2 separate regions of the Homo sapiens genome follow, and region 2 is linked to region 1. Evidence: promoter capture Hi-C in human tissues and cell types (Jung and others, 2019). All regions are on one chromosome and are shown on one strand. The core of a region is centred on a gene start or on the middle of the fragment in contact, and the rest is flanking DNA. Distances in the headings are between cores, read along the strand shown. Region 1 holds the start of ZNF25 (zinc finger protein 25). Region 2 has its middle 54 kb from the start of LINC00999.

The links. The method cuts DNA at HindIII sites, captures the fragments that hold promoters and counts their contacts. A contact is called where the count stands out against the background at its distance.
Region 2: a contact is called between a fragment that was not itself captured here and the fragment with the promoter of ZNF25 in region 1, in 1 of the 25 tissues and cell types used here (lymphoblastoid cells).

What each region holds. Positions count from the first base shown.
Region 1 is chr10:37,975,147-37,978,262 of GRCh38, forward strand. ZNF25 (zinc finger protein 25) reads right to left here and starts at 1,501. Exons shown (of 6, transcript NM_145011.4): 1 at 1,360-1,501. ZNF25-DT (ZNF25 divergent transcript) reads left to right here and starts at 1,609. Exons shown (of 6, transcript XR_930830.4): 1 at 1,609-1,859. RefSeq lists enhancers at 385-474, 1,515-1,744 and a silencer at 1,065-1,474. The HindIII fragment of the contact is 22,972 bases long and covers 1-3,116 here.
Region 2 is chr10:38,372,606-38,375,825 of GRCh38, forward strand. It overlaps the pseudogene HSD17B7P2. Among named protein-coding and RNA genes, the nearest start is that of LINC00999, 54 kb to the right of the region's middle. The HindIII fragment of the contact is 6,075 bases long and covers 1-3,220 here.

The DNA of each region.
Region 1 (3,116 bases), core at 251-2,750:
TGGGTACAAAAATACAGTTAGGTAGAAGGATTAAGTCCTAGTGTTCAATAGCACAGTATGGTTACAAGTGTTAGCAATAATTTATTAGCTATCAGAATAGCTAGAAGATTTCGAATATTTGCAACACAAAGAAATGATAAATGAGGCGGTGGATATTGTAATTACCCCGATTTGATCATGACACATTGTATGCATATATCAAAATATCACATGTACCCCACAAATATGTACATTATGTACCAAAAAAAAAAACTAAAATAAGCAGCAAAAACCACTTCCAGCTAGCATGGTGCTTACGAAATGCCTAAGCTCAGTTATCAGCCAATGAGAGGCATTATAAGATCACCACCATAAAATGGAGGAACTGATGAACTGCAGTTTTCATCTTTAAAAAAATTTTTTGTCCCATTTCCTGTCTTTAGAAACTAGCCTCTGGGCTGGATGGGATTCCCAGCTTCTCCTGTAAAATGCAAAATTGAGGGCTCAAATTGTGGTTTCAATTTACACGTTTCACAGTCCTCTGAGAAGAGACTAAGGTTGGAGGATGCAGGAAGGCCTTAAATAATTCACCTTTTGACTCAAGTGCTCTGAAGATTCCCCAAGCATTTTTGGAAACAGAACACTACCTGGTTGAGACTGGGTTCAAGTACACCACACAGCTACGTTCTGGTGGTGCTCAAGGGGCAAATGCTGTGCTAAATACAAGTCAAGACTGGATTTTAGTGTGGCAAGGCGCATTAACTCAGAGGAAAAAGTGAGGATTTACATCCCACCTGCTAATACTGTGGGTAAACGGATTTCTCTCTCTGAATCTTTAATAGTCACATTTATTTTAATAGAGATGGTTAAGTCGAAAGGATGGTTACGATGATTAAATGAGCCAATAATGAAAACAGCATGTTTTGTAATAATAGAAGCAGCTCACCTTTATTGAGTCCTGTATCATACTTTACATCTATTACCCTATTCAGTACCCAAAGGCCCCCATCATTTGCCAGATGCGCGTCGAGCCGCACTGGGACCACCTACAGACGCTGGACCAGAGCCCACGTCCCTGCGGCTTTGGAGCGCCGCGTCTGCAGCGGCCAGCGCGCCTCACATGGCGGCTCCGGTCACGTCACACAATGCGGCTGCTCCGGGCGCCCACTGCCCAGCACCGCAGGCCTCCTCTGGCCGCCCCTCAAGCAGGTCGCGCAAACGCCATTCCGGGCAGGGGCGCCAGCGCAGCCAGCCAACCTCCCCACCAGGCGGCTCCCACCCAGGGCCCTCCGCGGAGGCCGCTCCGGGGCCAGGAGGCGGCTTCCAGGCTCGAGACCCCGCCTCCCAGGCCCTGCCCGCCCGCAAAAGCCTTCGACACACCTGCAGGGTCTCGGCCTCTGCTCCCGGCCCGCGCCGGGCCCAGGCCCCGCCCTTTGCGGCCCAGCCCAGACCCGGAGGCACCGGAGTCCTCTCCCCACCCTAGGGCGTAAGACCAAAAAAACGCCAATGCCAGAAAGAAGACACTGCACATGCGCAGAACGTTTCCCTAGCCCTACTCCAGAACTACGCTTCCCAGAAGGCCCGGCTGCGACTCCATCTTGGATGACGTCGTGAGGCGCGGCCGCCTCCAGCGGCCTGAGTGATTGCTGTCGGGTTTCCGGGAGAGGGCGCTGTCCTTGCTCAGTGATGGCCGGAGAGCTGCACCCTGCACGTCTGGGCTTGAAGACAGAAATCCACCGTGAGGTGCTCCAAGGAACACTGATGGGCAGTTTTGTTAAAGTGATTGAACTCCGTGGGTACAGGAGTACGTGGAGTAATGAAGGATAATGCCCTGTAACCGCTTCCTCTTAGGAATGCTAGCTTTCACAATTGTGCAAACGGTACGCGAAACGTAATAAACTACAAAATATGTATAAGCTAAAACAGAAAACGAGTATACCACTTCCCAAAAGCAAAAGCGCTTAATGTTAGGTGAACATCCTTCTCATGAATTTACACAAATTTTAACCTAATGGTATAGAGTATCATGACTATCATTTCACTAAGGAATATATATAGTCATCCCTCCTTATCCTGGGGGTGCATATCTATGGATTCAACTAAGCTCAGAATGAAAATACTTAAAAATTCTATCTTACTGAACATGTACAAAGTTTCCCCCTTGTCATTATACCCTAAACAATACAATAAAACTATTTACATAGTATTTACATTGTGTTAGGTGTACAATTAATCTAGACATAATTTAAAATATACAGGAGGAGGTGTGTAGGTTATGCAAATATCAGGTTATTTTCTACCAGAGACTTGAACATCCCTGGATTTGAGTAATCCAGGGAGGTCCTGGTACTAATCCCCCGCGGATACAGAGAGAGGACTTGGCTGTATATGTAAAACAAATTATATATTTCCTGGTCAATAACTTTATTACATTAAAACATGTAGAATCATCTAGAAAAAAACGTATATATTGTCATGTGTATAAACACACATATATATACATATAAAAATATGCGCACATAATACACACACACACACCACCTTTCTGGATGGGAAGTATTGAGGAAATAATTTAAAATAAAGCCTCTTGCCAACCCAGAAAATTCTCTCCACAGATGGAGAAAAGAACAAAACAGTTACATTATTGAATAAACATTAAACCAGACTGCGATGTGCGTCACAGGCAACCCACTAATGAGTTTATGAAGACAGGAAGAACTATCATTTTTTGTATTAGCCGGTCTGGTACAACGCATTCTATTTCCTCAAGGTAAAAATAACTTGTCCTCAAGTAAGATGACTGTACAGCAACATTTGCTATGCATAATTCATCTGAAATTCACCTGATAATTAGGGTAGCCATCAGTGTTAGTTAATTGCCATTATGCAAATGAAAAGTAAAGTTTCTGGTATCTCTATGACACGCAGGTAGTTAACCGCGGGTAGCCAGGAGCCTAGGAGTTTACCACAGAGGCAGGGAGATGGGGTGCAATCTTCCTTGATGCTTACATTTCAAAGACATGACCCAAGGCCATTAAGAAAGACCTTCCTGGGTTGTTAAACTAGCAAGAAGCTTATTTACTTTTTAAAAAGTTTTGCTATATCTCACAGGGACAGAGAAGGGATTTACAATTACA
Region 2 (3,220 bases), core at 490-2,989, 400 kb after region 1:
TGGAAAAACTCTAACTTGATTGAAGATAAATGTTACTTTCTTTCTTTTATTTTAAATTATTATTATACTTCAAGTTCTAGAGTACATGTGCACAACGTGCAGGTTTGTTACATATGTATACATGTGCCATGTTGGTGTGCTGCACCCAATAACTCATCATTTACATTAGGTATATCTCCTAATGCTATCCCTCCCCACTACACCCACCCCACAACAGGCCCCAGTGTGTGAGGTTCCCCTTCCTGTGTCCATGTGTTCTCATTGTTCAGTTCCCACCTATGAGTGAGAACATGCGGTATTTGGTTTTTTGTCCTTGTGATAGTTTGCTGAGAATGATGGTTTCCAGCTTCATCCATGTCCCTACAAAGGATATGAACTCATCCTTTTTTATGGCTGCATAGTATTCTATGTGGTATATGTGCCACATTTTCTTAATCCAGTCTATCATTGATGGACATTTGGGTTGATTCCAAGTCTTTGCTATTGTGAATAGTGCCGCAGTAAACATACATGTGCATCTGTCTTTATAGCAGCATGATTTATAATCCTTTGGGTATATATCCAATAATGGGATGGCTGGGTCAAATGGTATTTCTAGTTCTAGATCCTTGAGGAATTGCCACACTGTCTTCCACAATGGTTGAACTAGTTTACAGTCCCACCAACAGTGTAAAAGTGTTCCTATTTCTCCACATACTCTCCAGCACCTGTTGTTTCCTGACTTTTTAATGATCGCCATTCTAACTGGTGTGAGATGGTATCTCACTGTGGTTTTGATTTGCATTTCTCTGATGGCCAGTGATGATGAGCATTTTTGCATGTGTCTTTTGCTTGCATAAATGTCTTCTTCTGAGAAGTGTCTGTTCATATCCTTTGCCCACTTGTTGATGGGGTTGTTTGTTTTTTTCTTGTAAATTTGAGTTCATTGTAGATTCTGGATATTAGCCCTTTGTCAGATGGGTAGATTGTGAAAATTTTCTCCCATTCTGTAGGTTGCCTTCCTCTGATGGTAGTTTCTTTTGCTTTGCAGAAGCTCTTTAGTTTAATTAGATCCCATTTGTCAATTTTGGCTTTTGTTGCCATTGCTTTTGGTGTTTTAGACATGAAGTCCTTGCCCATGCCTATGTCCTGAATGGTATTGCCTAGGTTTTCTTCTAGGGTTTTTATGGTTTTAGGTCTAACATTTAAGTATTTAATCCATCTCAAATTAATTTTTGTATAAGGTGTAAGGAAGGGATCGAGTTTCAGCTTTCTACATATGGCTAGCCAGTTTTCCCAGCACCATTTATTAAATAGGGAATCCTTTCCCCATTTCTTGTTTATGTCAGGTTTGTCAAAGATCAGATGGTTGTAGATATGCGGCATTATTTCTGAGGGCTGTGTTCTGTTCCATTGGTCTATATCTCTGTTTTGGTACCAGTACCATGCTGTTTTGGTTACTGTAGCCTTGTAGTATAGTTTGAAGTCAGGTAGCGTGATGCCTCCAGCTTTGTTCTTTTGGCTTAGGATTGTCTTGGCAATGCGGGCCCTTTTTTGGCTCCATATGAACTTGAAAGTAGTTTTTTCCAATTCTGTGAAGACAGTCATTGGCAGCTTGATGGGGATGGCATTGAATCTATACATTACCTTGGCCAGTATGGCCATTTTCATGATATTAATTCTTCCTATCCATGAGCATGGAATGTTCTTCCATTTGTTTGTGTCCTCTTTTATTTCATTGAGCAGTGGTTTGTAGTTCTCCTTGACGAGGTCCTTCACATCTCTTGTAAGTTGAATTCCTAGATATTTTATTCTCTTTGAAGCAATTGTGAATGGGAGTTCACTCATGATTTGGCTCTCTGTTTGTCTCCTATTGGTGTATAAGAATGCTCGTGATTTTTGCACATTGATTTTGTATCCTGAGACTTTGCTGAAGTTGCTTATCAGCTTAAGGAGATTTTGGGCTGAGACAATGGGGTTTTCTAAATATACAATCATGTAATTTGCAAACAGGGACAATTTGACCTCCCCTTTTCCTAATTGAATACCCTTTCATTCTTTCTCCTGCCTGATTGCCCTGGCCAGAACTTCCAACACTATGTTGAATAGAAGTGGAGAGAGAGGGCGTCCCTGTCTTGTGCCAGTTTTCAAAGGGAATGCTTCTAGTTTTTGCCCATTCAATATGATATTGGCTGTGAGTTTGTCATAAATAGCTCTTATTATTTTGAGATATGTCCGATCAATACCTAATTTATTGAGAATTTTTAACACGAAGTGCTGTTGAATTTTGTCAAAGGCCTTTTCTGCATCTATTGAGATAATCTTGTGGTTTTTGTCTTTGGTTCTGTTTATATGCTGGATTACGTTTATTGATTTGCGTATGTTGAATCAGCCTTGCATCCCAGGGATGAAGCTCACTTGATCATGGTGGATAAGCTTTTTGATGTGCTGCTGGATTCGGTTTGCCAGTATTTTATTGAGGATTTTTGCATCAGTGTTCGTCAGCGATATTGGTCTAAAATTCTCTTTTTTTGTTGTGTCTCTGTCAGGCTTTGGTATCAGGATGATGCTGGCCTCATAAAATGAGTTAGGAAGGATTCCCTCTTTTTCTATTGATTGGAATAGTTTCAGAAGGAATGGTACCAGCTCCTCCTTGTACCTCTGGTAGAATTCGGCTGTGAATCTGTCTGGTCCTGGGCTTTTTTTGGTTGGTAGGCTATTATTGCCTCAATTTCAGATCCTGTTATTGGTCTATTCAGGGATTTGACCCCTTCCTGGTTTAGTCTTGGGAGGGTGTAAGTGTCCAGGAATTTATCCATTTCTTCTAGATTTTCTAGTTTATTTGCGTAGAGGTGTTTATAGTATTCTCAGATGGGATCGGTGGTGATATCCCTTTTATCATTTTTTATTGCGTCTATTTGATTCTTCTCTCTCTTCTTCTTTATTAGTCTTGCTAGCAGTCTGTCAATTTTGTTGATCTTTTCAAAAAACCAGCTCCTGGATTCATTGATTTTTTGAAGGGTTTTTTTGTGTCTCTATCTCCTTCAGTTCTGCTCTGATCTTAGTTATTTCTTGCCTTCTGCTAGCTTTTGAATGTGTTTGCTTTTGCTTCTCTAGTTCTTTTAATTGTGATGTTAGAGTGTCAATTTTAGATCTTTCCTGCTTTCTCTTGTGGGCTTTTAGTGCTATAAATTTCGCTCTACACACTGCTTTAAATGTGTCCCAGAGATTCTGGTGTGTT